2 separate regions of the Homo sapiens genome follow, and region 1 is linked to region 2. Evidence: promoter capture Hi-C in 16 types of primary human blood cells and fetal thymus (Javierre and others, 2016). All regions are on one chromosome and are shown on one strand. Each heading gives the region's core, a stretch centred on a gene start or on the middle of the fragment in contact. The rest is flanking DNA. Distances are from core to core; before and after follow the strand shown. Region 1 holds the start of LOC101928994 (a long non-coding RNA gene). Region 2 holds the start of TSPAN15 (tetraspanin 15).

Region 1 (5,066 bases), core at 1,129-3,628, 220 kb before region 2:
AAGAGAGAAAGCTGCCATTTACTGAGCAACCACTGTGGTCATGGGGTGCTGGGGACTCGCTGAGCCACATATTTCCTGTGACAACCCTGTGGTGTGGCTGTTCAGACAGAACCACCAAGGACCAAGGGGTTTCTCCCATGTCAGGGTCCCAGTGCCCAAACCGAGCTCGTGAAAGAGCACTGGGGCTCTCGCAGGAGCAGGGTCTGAGGTTTGGGAGCTCTCAGGGGGCTTTGATGGGATCAGTCGTGTTCTGGACCTCTCTGGAGCAATGCCTGGATCAAGGTAGCTTGGCTCTGCTGGTTGAGAGGCCCTGGGACACTGCACTGGGAAAGGCCCTGTGCCCTCACTTGTGGGTAGGTGCTTGGGATGGACAGTGCCCTGTCCTGGAAGGACGTTGAGCTTCGGAGAGAGACAGCCCTACTTTGAAATCTTGGCTCTGTCCTTGCCACAGCTTGACGAGAGTACTGGGACGTGTCCTTGACAGGGCATCTGGGGCCCCTGGGAGGAAGCAGCTGAGTCATGTGGGGAGCACCAGGGCTAAGTCCGCCTGGCTTCCTGGACTGCAGCCCCTCCTCCTGATACAGACAAGGTGTGTCCCCAGAAGCAAGGGAAGGTGGCCTTTGATGGTCTGGAGGCTCTGGGACAGGCGGTGTCCTCCTGGCCCTGGCTGCTTCTGAAGGTTCAGAAGTGAAACTAACTAAGTCATAGAAACTCTCTCCTCCTTAGCCGGGAAGACGCCCAGCTCCCCATCCCCGTCTCCGCAGAGCCTCTCACCACACAAAGCATCTCACCAGTGATTCTGTTGTGCCGAGGTCCCTGGGCCCAGAGTCCCTAATAAGCCAGGTGTTCTTGGTAAATCCCGGCACCATACATGATTGTCAGGATTTAATGAGATCATGTGGATGGCGTGCTTTAACATCTCTAAAATCTTGTCCCAAGTCCTCCTAGCTCTTGTGAGCTGGTGGTATAATTTCATGATTACCGACAAAAAACAAGCAAAACTCTCCTAATTCCTTATGGTGTCCGTTTCAGAAATGTATGCAGCTTCCAGAGAAGTCCTGAGTTTGCCTACTCCCATCAGGACCTATCTGCGAGGGAGTCACCTGTTTGAGCCTTAGTTACCACCCAGCCTTTTGGTCAGGGGGCTGCAGTGGTCTGTTCTGACAGGATCAAGTGCCTTAAAAGTGCTGTGTTAATACTGGAGCCTTCTCTGCCAGTCATGGAAGGGGCATGGGAAGCATGAGGGTGACTGTGATTCTTTGGCTTGACCCCTGCTGGCTCTGTTCCAGGCCTTAGCCTCCAGTCAGCCTCCAAGGCCAAATAGGCCTTGGGGGTGAGCCCGGGAGCCCTGAGGTCGTCAGCCTGGAGCCTCGAGTGTTTCCTAATACACACTTTCCCAGCCCCTCCCCCTGGGGACTCTGAATCTCCAGGAATCTCCGCATTCAGCCACTGTGCACCTTTGGGAGACTCTGCACTGGGTAAAAGGAGGGAGTGAAGGCACCAGCACCAGCAGTGACTTACGAGAAGGGAACCATTGGGTCCAAGGCAGTTCATGGAGGGTCCTCTGGAGCAGGCAGATTGGCCAAAGCAATTTACCCCGCTTAGGACACTGTTTTCTCTTTTCTTTCTTTTTAGAAACAAGGTCTCCCTCCGTTGCCCAACCTGCAGTGCAATGGAGCCATCATAGATCACTGCAGCCTTGACCTTCTAGGCTCAAGTGATCCTCCTGCTTCAGCCTCCCAAGTAGCTGGGACTACAGGTGCATGCCACTACGCCCAACTGACTTTTTTGTCTTTTGTTTTGTAGAGACAGGGTTTTACCATATTGACCAGGCTGGTGTTGAACTCTTGGCAAGGGATTAATTCTCCTGCCTGGGCCTCCCAAAGTGCTGGGACCACAGGTGTGAGCCACCGTGCCTGGCCGGGGCTGTTTTCTTGATGTCTGTGAAGACTCTGAGGCCCCACAGACTGCTGTTGCCTGGGCAAGTCCTCCCTCTCCCAGGGTCCACTGGTTCCTTTTTTCTGGGGTCAGAGACAGAAGGGATCACACCATGTGGCATCCATGAAATGGCACCTCGAGCCACTGGTGGAGTGAGGTGTTTGATAGTGATTGCGATGCGGGCCGGGAGTGGGATGCCTCCACACCGACACTGGCCAGGTCTCAGCACATCCCCTCCCGTCCGATGGCAGTGCAGCAGCCTCTTCTTTTGTTAAACCCTCAGTCTATTCTGGTTGGTGTCAGAGGCATTTGTCCCCAGAATCTCAGATCTTGGCACTCCCTAGCTTAAAATCTTTCTGCAGCTCCCTCTCACCTTCCAGATAAAGCCCAAGCTCCTTGGGGTGGATAGCTTTTCCAAATCCTTCCAAATTTAACCTGAGAGCCACCTTCCAACCTCATTTCTGTGACAGCTGCCCTCCTTTGGCAAAAGCACACTCACTCTTAGCGGATGCTTTCTCATTCCTTTGCCCGTGGTTCCTCTCCCTGGGACCCCCGCTCCCGGCAGCCTGGCAGCCTGACTCCTGCTCACCCTTCAACACTCAGCTCTGTGTCCCCTCCCTGCAAAGCCAGCTGCCTTTGTCTCCCAGCTTTGACCTGGATATCTCTCCCTGTGCCTCTCACAATCTGAGCACTGGTCCTACTATATGGAAATAGCTGATTTATGCGCCTGTATTTCGGATCAATTTCCCAGGGAGCACACCGTCTTTCATCTGCGCATCCCTAGCACCTAACACATGTTACTCAGCACAGAGTAGATGCTCAGTAAATGTGTGGACATAGATTGTGGGATCTACCCTACCTCCTACACAGCAAGACAGCATCTGGGAGAACCCTCTTACTTGGTGCATAATATATACTAATAAAAGTTGCATAGGATTAACTCCCTGAATTCCCTCACCAAATAATAAATGACTCCATCAGCTCCTTTGTGGCTGATCTGTGAAGGTAAGAATTTCCGGATGTCTACACAAAAACAAAAAATCGAGCTGGCTGCACCTTTGCTACTCTAACTATGGTCTACAGACCAGCAACAGCAGCAACATCACCAAGTTGGCCAGGCTGTTCTTGAACTGCTGACCTCAGGTGATCTGCCCGTCTCGGCCTCCCAAAATGCTGGGATTACAGGCATGAGCCACTGTGCCCAGCCCCCACCTTTCAATTAATGGCATCTGTCTTGGGCTGGGCTGGGTTGTGTTCCAATGTCTCCTTTTGGAGTGGCTCTGGCCTAAAAAAATCAGCATCCTTGGCACCTCAAGGGCCATTGTTTAGTCCCTGTCTCCTCTCCCCTCCAGGAGTGTTTTCCCTCTGCCCATAGGATCATCGGCTGCAGGAGGCTGGCTGCTCCTCGCCGCACATCCTGTCTTCCCCCTCATACCTTTATCCGAGTTTCCCCAGGCTGGGAGCACCAGCTCTCTCTTCCCAGTGATGGCATCCCAGGATGGGCTCCACCGTCGAGGCCACCTCTCATACCACCGCAAGGGCTGTGCTCACATTTGCCCTCTCCAGTTGACATGCACATTCCTACAGCATGAGCCAGTGGGTTGGGCTCAGGCTGCAGAGTCAGGCTGACTTAGTTCACATCTCAGCTCTGCGCCTTACCTCGAGGGCTCTGAGAAATGGCCAGAGTCCTCAGCCTTGGCAAATGAGCATAATGATACCTAGTGGCTGTGATTTGAAGACGTTGATTATATGTCCAACCTCTAATGCAGAGCTTGCCATATCTGTAGTAGACCCTCAATAAATGGAAACTGAATTTGTTTCTTAATAGAAAATGGGGAGTTCCTTTCCCTGGATCTCGGAGGGTCCAAGTTCCGAGTGCTGAAGGTGCAAGTCGCTGAAGAGGGGAAGCGACACGTGCAGATGGAGAGTCAGTTCTACCCAACGCCCAATGAAATCATCCGCGGGAACGGCACAGAGGTACCTGGCAGGTGGCTCCTGTGACCGCAGGGAAGGCGGTGGCATCCGTGTGTGGGGAAACCACACCTTAGCCCATGTACTTTGCTTTCTCTTCTCTGCAGCTGTTTGAATATGTAGCTGACTGTCTGGCAGATTTCATGAAGACCAAAGATTTAAAGCATAAGAAATTGCCCCTTGGCCTAACTTTTTCTTTCCCCTGTCGACAGACTAAACTGGAAGAGGTAAGGCGCGGAGGGAAGCAGCAGTGCAGGAATTGGGGCTTGGGGAATGTGGGCACGGGTGGGAGTCAGGCTGCACGCAGGAGAGAACAGCAGGAGCTTTCTTGTTTGTCTTTTTCTTTTCTTTTTGTTCATGATGAGGTGGCAGCGTGAGGCAGAGAACTTGTTAACGCAATGGCCTTGATTTTATGATTAACGTGGGCACAGCTCGGGGGAGTAGAATGCTTTTCACTAGCTCTCAAACCTTGGTGTGAGGAATTCCTTGGAGGGCTTGTTTTAAGCACAGATTGCTGGGCCTACTGGAATCAGTGGTTCTGCAAGGAGGCCCTAAATTCGCCTCCCTGACAGGTTCCTGGCAGATGTGATGCTGCCTGAGGCCTGCACTTAGGACCACTGACATAGCCAACTAGAAGAAACATGGGAAGGCTGGGGAGTCTCTCCCTGTAGTGAGCCCTCAGGAGGAGGATTAGAATGGGGGCACTGGAGGACCAGGCGCGGTGGCTCACGCCTATAATCCCAGCACTTTGGGAGGCCGAGGCGGGCGGATCATGAGGTCAGGAGATCGAGACCATCCTGGCTAACATGGTGAAACCCCGTCTCTACTAAAAATGCAAAAAATTAGCTGGGTGTGGTGCCGGGCGCCTGTAGTCCCAGCCACTTGGGAGGCTGAGGCAGGAGAATGGCGTGAACCCGGGAGGCGGAGCTTGCAGTGAGCCGAGATTGTGCCACTGCACTCCAGCCTGGGTGACAGAGCAAGACTCCGTCTCAAAAAAAAAAAAAGGAATGGGGGCACTGGAGGAGTGAGAATGTCCTGGAGCAGACACAGAGCCTGGGATACACAGTCTGAACTGTGTCACCAGCTAGGCCGGGGTTCCTGGTAACTCATCTCTGTGTGTCTCAGTTTTCAATCTGTAAGCAGGAGGAAGCTAACCC
Region 2 (4,821 bases), core at 1,372-3,871:
TCCAGGGTATGAAGAGGGTTCCAAGCTTCTATGGGTGGGGAAGAGACTAGCACCTCAAATAATGGGTGTGGACTTAGCTCTGCAGGGCTGGGTGGAGGCTCTAGCCCTCAAAGAGGAATAAAAAGTTAGTCTTCCTCCTCAAAGGACAGAAAGGACAACTTTTTTTTTTTTTGGGGACCGAGTCTCGCTCTGTCATCCAGGCTGGAGTGCAGTGGCACGATCTTGACTCATTGCAACCTCTGCTATCCAGGTTCAAGTGATTCTCCTGCCTCAGCCTCCCGAGTAGCTGGGATTACAGGCACCCATCACCATGCCCGGCTAATTTTTGTATTTTTAGTAGAGCCAGGGTTTCACCATGTTGGCCAGGCTGATCTTGAGCTCCTGACCTCGAGTGATCCCCCTGCCTTGGCCTCCCAAAGTGTTGGGATTACAGGTGTGAGCCACCGCGCCCGGCCAGAATGGACAACTTTTAACACTATGGTAAGATGCCTTCTTGGCCCTCAGATAATCATTTGAGGGCAGCTTGCATTACTCTCTGGTTCTCTTTCCACCTTTTCTTTTCCCTGTTGTTTTTTTTTTGAGACAGGGTCTTGCTTTGTTGTCCAGGCTGGAGTGCCGTAGCACAATCATAGCTCACTGCAGCCTTGATCTTTTGGGCTCGAGAAGTGATACCCCCACCTCACCCTCCCAAGTAGCTGGGACTACAGGCACGAGACACCATGCTTGGCTAATTTTTTTGATTTTCAGTGGAGATGAGGTCTTGCTACGTTGCCCAGACTGGTCTGAAACTCCTGGACTCAAGCAAACCTCTCACCTTGGCCTCCCAAAGTGCAGGGATTACAGGCATGAGCCACTGTGCCTGGCTCTGGTTCTATTTCTCTACCCCACACAAACATCCTCCCAAGGTTTGTTTGTTTTGTACCAGGAAATTGGTTTCCTTTTACCCTTCCAGGCATGGCACTGCCTCCCTCCCCACCCCCCAATCTTGCTTTCTTCCTCCTAGGGCAGAGCTCTGGGGGCTAAAGCCAGCCTGGACTAAGTCTCTGAGTCTGTCCTTCTCTGTTGAGTTTGTGTATGCAGGAGCCCTGGGAACCCAGGACTGGGGACTTGTATAAGAGTGTCGTTCCTGAAATCACCACCAGGGACCCCACCCAGCACTGCTAGAGCTTATGACCTCTGCCATGGATTTAATTACTGAAGGCCACAGCAGGGATTGTCTGGCTCCCAAGTCCCAGGCTGAGCTAGGCTTGGGAGACAGGAAACAACAGTGAGTAAAGCTGGGACCATCTAGCATGAGAGACAGGCTCACAGCCACCTCTGGTCCCAGGCTGAGAAAAGGCCAGGTGGGAGGAGGCTGGGTTAGTGGCTGGCTATGTGCAAGAGAGGGAGCTGCCTCCCTCACCTATAGTTTCTGTTTGTTTGTTTTTTGTTTTTTTGAGATGGAGTCTCCCTTTGTCACCCAGGCTGGAGTGCAGTGGCGGGATCTCGGTTCACTGTAACTTCCGCCTCCCGGGTTCAAGCGATTCTCCTGCTTCAGCCTCCCCAGTAGCTGGGACTACAGGCATGCACCACCCTGCCCGGCTAATTTTTTTTGTATTTCTTAGTAGAGACAGGGTTTCACCACGTTGTCCAGGCTAGTCTCGAACTCCTGACCTCAAGTGATCCGCACGCCTTGGCCTCCCAAAGTGTTGGTATTACAGGCGTGAGCCACCGTGCCCGGCCTTGTTTTTGTTTTTGTTTTGGAGAGAGGGTCTCACTCTGTCTCCCAGGCTGGAGTGCACTGGCACAATCACGGCTCACTGCAGCCTTGACTTCCCTGACTCAAGCGATTCTCCCGCCTGTCTCCCAAGTAGCTGGGACAACAGGCGCGCCACCGTGCCTGGCTTTTTATTTTTTTTAATTATAGAGTCGGCGTTTTGCCATGTTGCCCAGGCTGGTCTTGAACTCCTGGGGCTCAAGCCATTCGCCCTCCTCAGCCTCCCAAAGTGCTGGGATTACAGGCGTGAGTCACCGCGCCAGGCCTTCAACCTAGTTTGAAGATGGGGTTTCCCGGGAGGAACCCTTCCCAAGGCTGGGTTATCACCTGGCAAAAGAAGGGGACTTCCGAGGTCGTTTGGTGAAGGCCTTCAGCAGATCTGTTTCACGAGCAAACTTCAGACTCCAGCTCCATGGGGGCCTATTAGCCCCACCCTGGTCTGCCTCCCTGAGCCTTCCTGAGCCGAGCAACTCCACTTCCTTATTCCATTCACGTTTAGCACACTCATTTGCACTTTCAACACCTGGGCGATTAATTCTTGCCCTTTTCCCAAAGTTTTCCCTCTTGACAAGAGGAAAGCTTGCATTTCTATGTACCCCGATTAGGCACGCTCGCTCTCTCCTTAGAGCACCTCTGGTTCACCTCTCCCACGCCCCCTGCATTAGCACAGGCGTTTCCAGAGTTGCACGCGAGCTCATTTGCAAGACCGTCTCCCCCTCCCATCCCTTCTTGGTCCCCTCTAGGGCCCAGGGCAGCAGCCCCGCCCCTGGCCCGCCCCCTCCCAGACGCTAGGCAGCCGCGGCCTCCCATTGGCCGCCAGGGCTGGCAGGCTTCCCGGCTGGGGCTGTGATTGCCGCGCTCCAGTGTCAGTCCCGGAGAGAACGCCGGTGGCGGGGCTGGTAGCCCGGCAGCCGCAGGTGGGGCCACGAGCGCTGGCTGAGGGACCGAGCCGGAGAGCCCCGGAGCCCCCGTAACCCGCGCGGGGAGCGCCCAGGATGCCGCGCGGGGACTCGGAGCAGGTGCGCTACTGCGCGCGCTTCTCCTACCTCTGGCTCAAGTTTTCACTTATCATCTATTCCACCGTGTTCTGGGTGAGTGACCCCAGTAGGGCCCGGGGATGGGGGTGGGGACCCACAATCCGGCCGCCCCCTCACTGGCCCGGGGTTGGGTCCACACTTAGCCGCTCCAGGGAGTGCGCGGGTGAGCGCGCGCGGACTCCTTGTCTTTCTACCTCACATTCGGGCGGCCAGAGCTCAGCCTGAATTTTCAGCCGCCCTTTCGGGAGTGTGAGAGCCGGTTGTCGACCGACCGAGTGCCACCTGGCTCACCTGTGTGCACCGGCTGGGCGGTTTGCCCGCTGTGCGTCCGCTGGCCGGCTGGCTAGGCTGAGGTGAACGCGCTGGCCGCGCCCACCACGCCTACCCGGTAGGACTGACTGCCTCTGCATCGGCCTGTGGAGCTTAAGTAGTTAGGATTTGCAGTCGGGGTTGGGAGACCTGGATTCCGGGTCTGGTCCCTGCTAGTTACTTGCTGATGCCCCTGAGCGAGACGCTTCCCCGCTCCGTCTTGGTTTCCTCTTTGGTGGATGCACGTGCCTCCTGCGTGGCGAGGAGAAGTCCACCAGACGACGTCTCCTGCACACCTAGGTGCTCAGTTTCCGCTGTCGCTGGGCTTTACCTCCTCCTCTGCCTTGTTAGGGGGCAGGATGGTAGTGTTTAGACATGAACCAAGCTTTGAATTCCGTCGCTCCGAGTGGTCTTTTATTTTATATTTTATTTTTTATTTAAAACATTGCTAATCTCTGTATCGTTCCAATTTCAGTTTGTGCGTTTCTGAAATGAGCACTTGCTGAGTGATCTTGGGGAAGTTACTTCATTCCTCTCGGCCATGGTTTCCTCATCTGTAAATGGACACAGTAATTATATTCAACTTGTAGGATGCTCGCGGAGATTACGTGAAATAGGCCGGGTATGGTGCCTAGTGAAGAGCTCAAGAAGTGTGAGACATTATTACTATCGTGGGCAGGGAATTTGGACACCTGTGGTGTAAGCTGCCCCAAGAGATTGGGTTTCTGTAAGGGCGTTTCATATTAGGCTGGGCCCTATTCTAGAGATGAGGATATCTTCCTATAGGCCAGCTCCGCCCCTGTCACTCCAGAATCGCTCTCTGCCTGCAGTATGCCACAAGAGCAGACTTGCCCAGGGACCCAGGGTGGTCACTGACACCCCATTCCCACCAAATACACACACTCTCCCCTGGTGTCCTCCTTAGCCCCTTGCTGGGTCTCTTCTGCTAGCAGGAGCTGCTGGATTTGCCATCAGGACTGGCTTTCCCTGTGACCCCTTTGTGGGTGGGGCCTTGCCTGGTAATCGGAGATCCAGATTCAGCTCTGTTACTGACTTATGGATATCTTAGGCAAGTCACTTTCCTGTTTTGGGCCTCAGAACTGTTCATTGACTTTTCCATCTAGAAGACTAGTCTGAGGCCAGTTTCCAATCCAATTCTCTGACTCTAGGTAATGTGGAGGAGAGATGAACAGTATGTTTGGGGGGCGGAGGATGGAGCAAGGACCTGTTGGTGGAAGCTCTAGGGAGACAGAAGGTCATATGTGGGATGGGAGTGGGGGTGATTTGAGCTATAAATCAGCGGTTGCATCAGATTCTTGTGCCCTGGCATAGGTATTTATTTAAATTTACATAAGCTTAATTGTAGTAAATTACTTACTAGAATTAAGGTAATTCTAGTGTGCAGTCAGTATTGAAAACTGCTGCCCTAGATGGTCTCATAGGTCCCCTAAGTCCCCAGGATTTCTGTGCCTGCCCCTTGTGTGTTCTGTGAGCCCTTCTCTCTGTAAATCAGAGTTGAAAGAGCCTAAGGTTGATGGGTGGGGAGGTAGGAAGATGGAGTTGTATTTTGGGCTTCACCCCTTCCCCAGATATATAATCACAAACCAGTCTCTCTACCTCCTCACGTTTCCATTTTCTCATCTATAAAATGAATAAGTGAATCTCTGCCCTGTACCTCACTGAATTGTTTTAGGATTAGTGATATGGGGAAAGAGTGAC

The links. Contacts are between HindIII fragments. The CHiCAGO score rates a contact against its expected background, and 5 or more counts as called.
Region 1: a contact is called between a fragment that was not itself captured here and the fragment with the promoter of TSPAN15 in region 2, in 1 of 17 cell types (activated CD4 T cells). The highest score is 5.6, in activated CD4 T cells.

What each region holds. Positions count from the first base shown.
Region 1 is chr10:69,228,998-69,234,063 of GRCh38, forward strand. HKDC1 (hexokinase domain containing 1) reads left to right here. Exons shown (of 18, transcript NM_025130.4): 3 at 3,767-3,915; 4 at 4,017-4,136. LOC101928994 (a long non-coding RNA gene) reads right to left here and starts at 3,493. Exons shown (of 5, transcript NR_120648.1): 1 at 3,374-3,493. RefSeq lists enhancers at 222-391, 691-750, 791-840, 2,837-4,036, 3,650-4,375. The HindIII fragment of the contact is 6,469 bases long and covers 1-5,066 here.
Region 2 is chr10:69,448,844-69,453,664 of GRCh38, forward strand. TSPAN15 (tetraspanin 15) reads left to right here and starts at 2,622. Exons shown (of 8, transcript NM_012339.5): 1 at 2,622-2,847. The coding sequence starts at 2,752. RefSeq lists enhancers at 1,025-1,643, 1,644-2,261, 2,211-2,350, 3,142-3,642 and a silencer at 2,471-2,780. The HindIII fragment of the contact is 1,152 bases long and covers 2,334-3,485 here.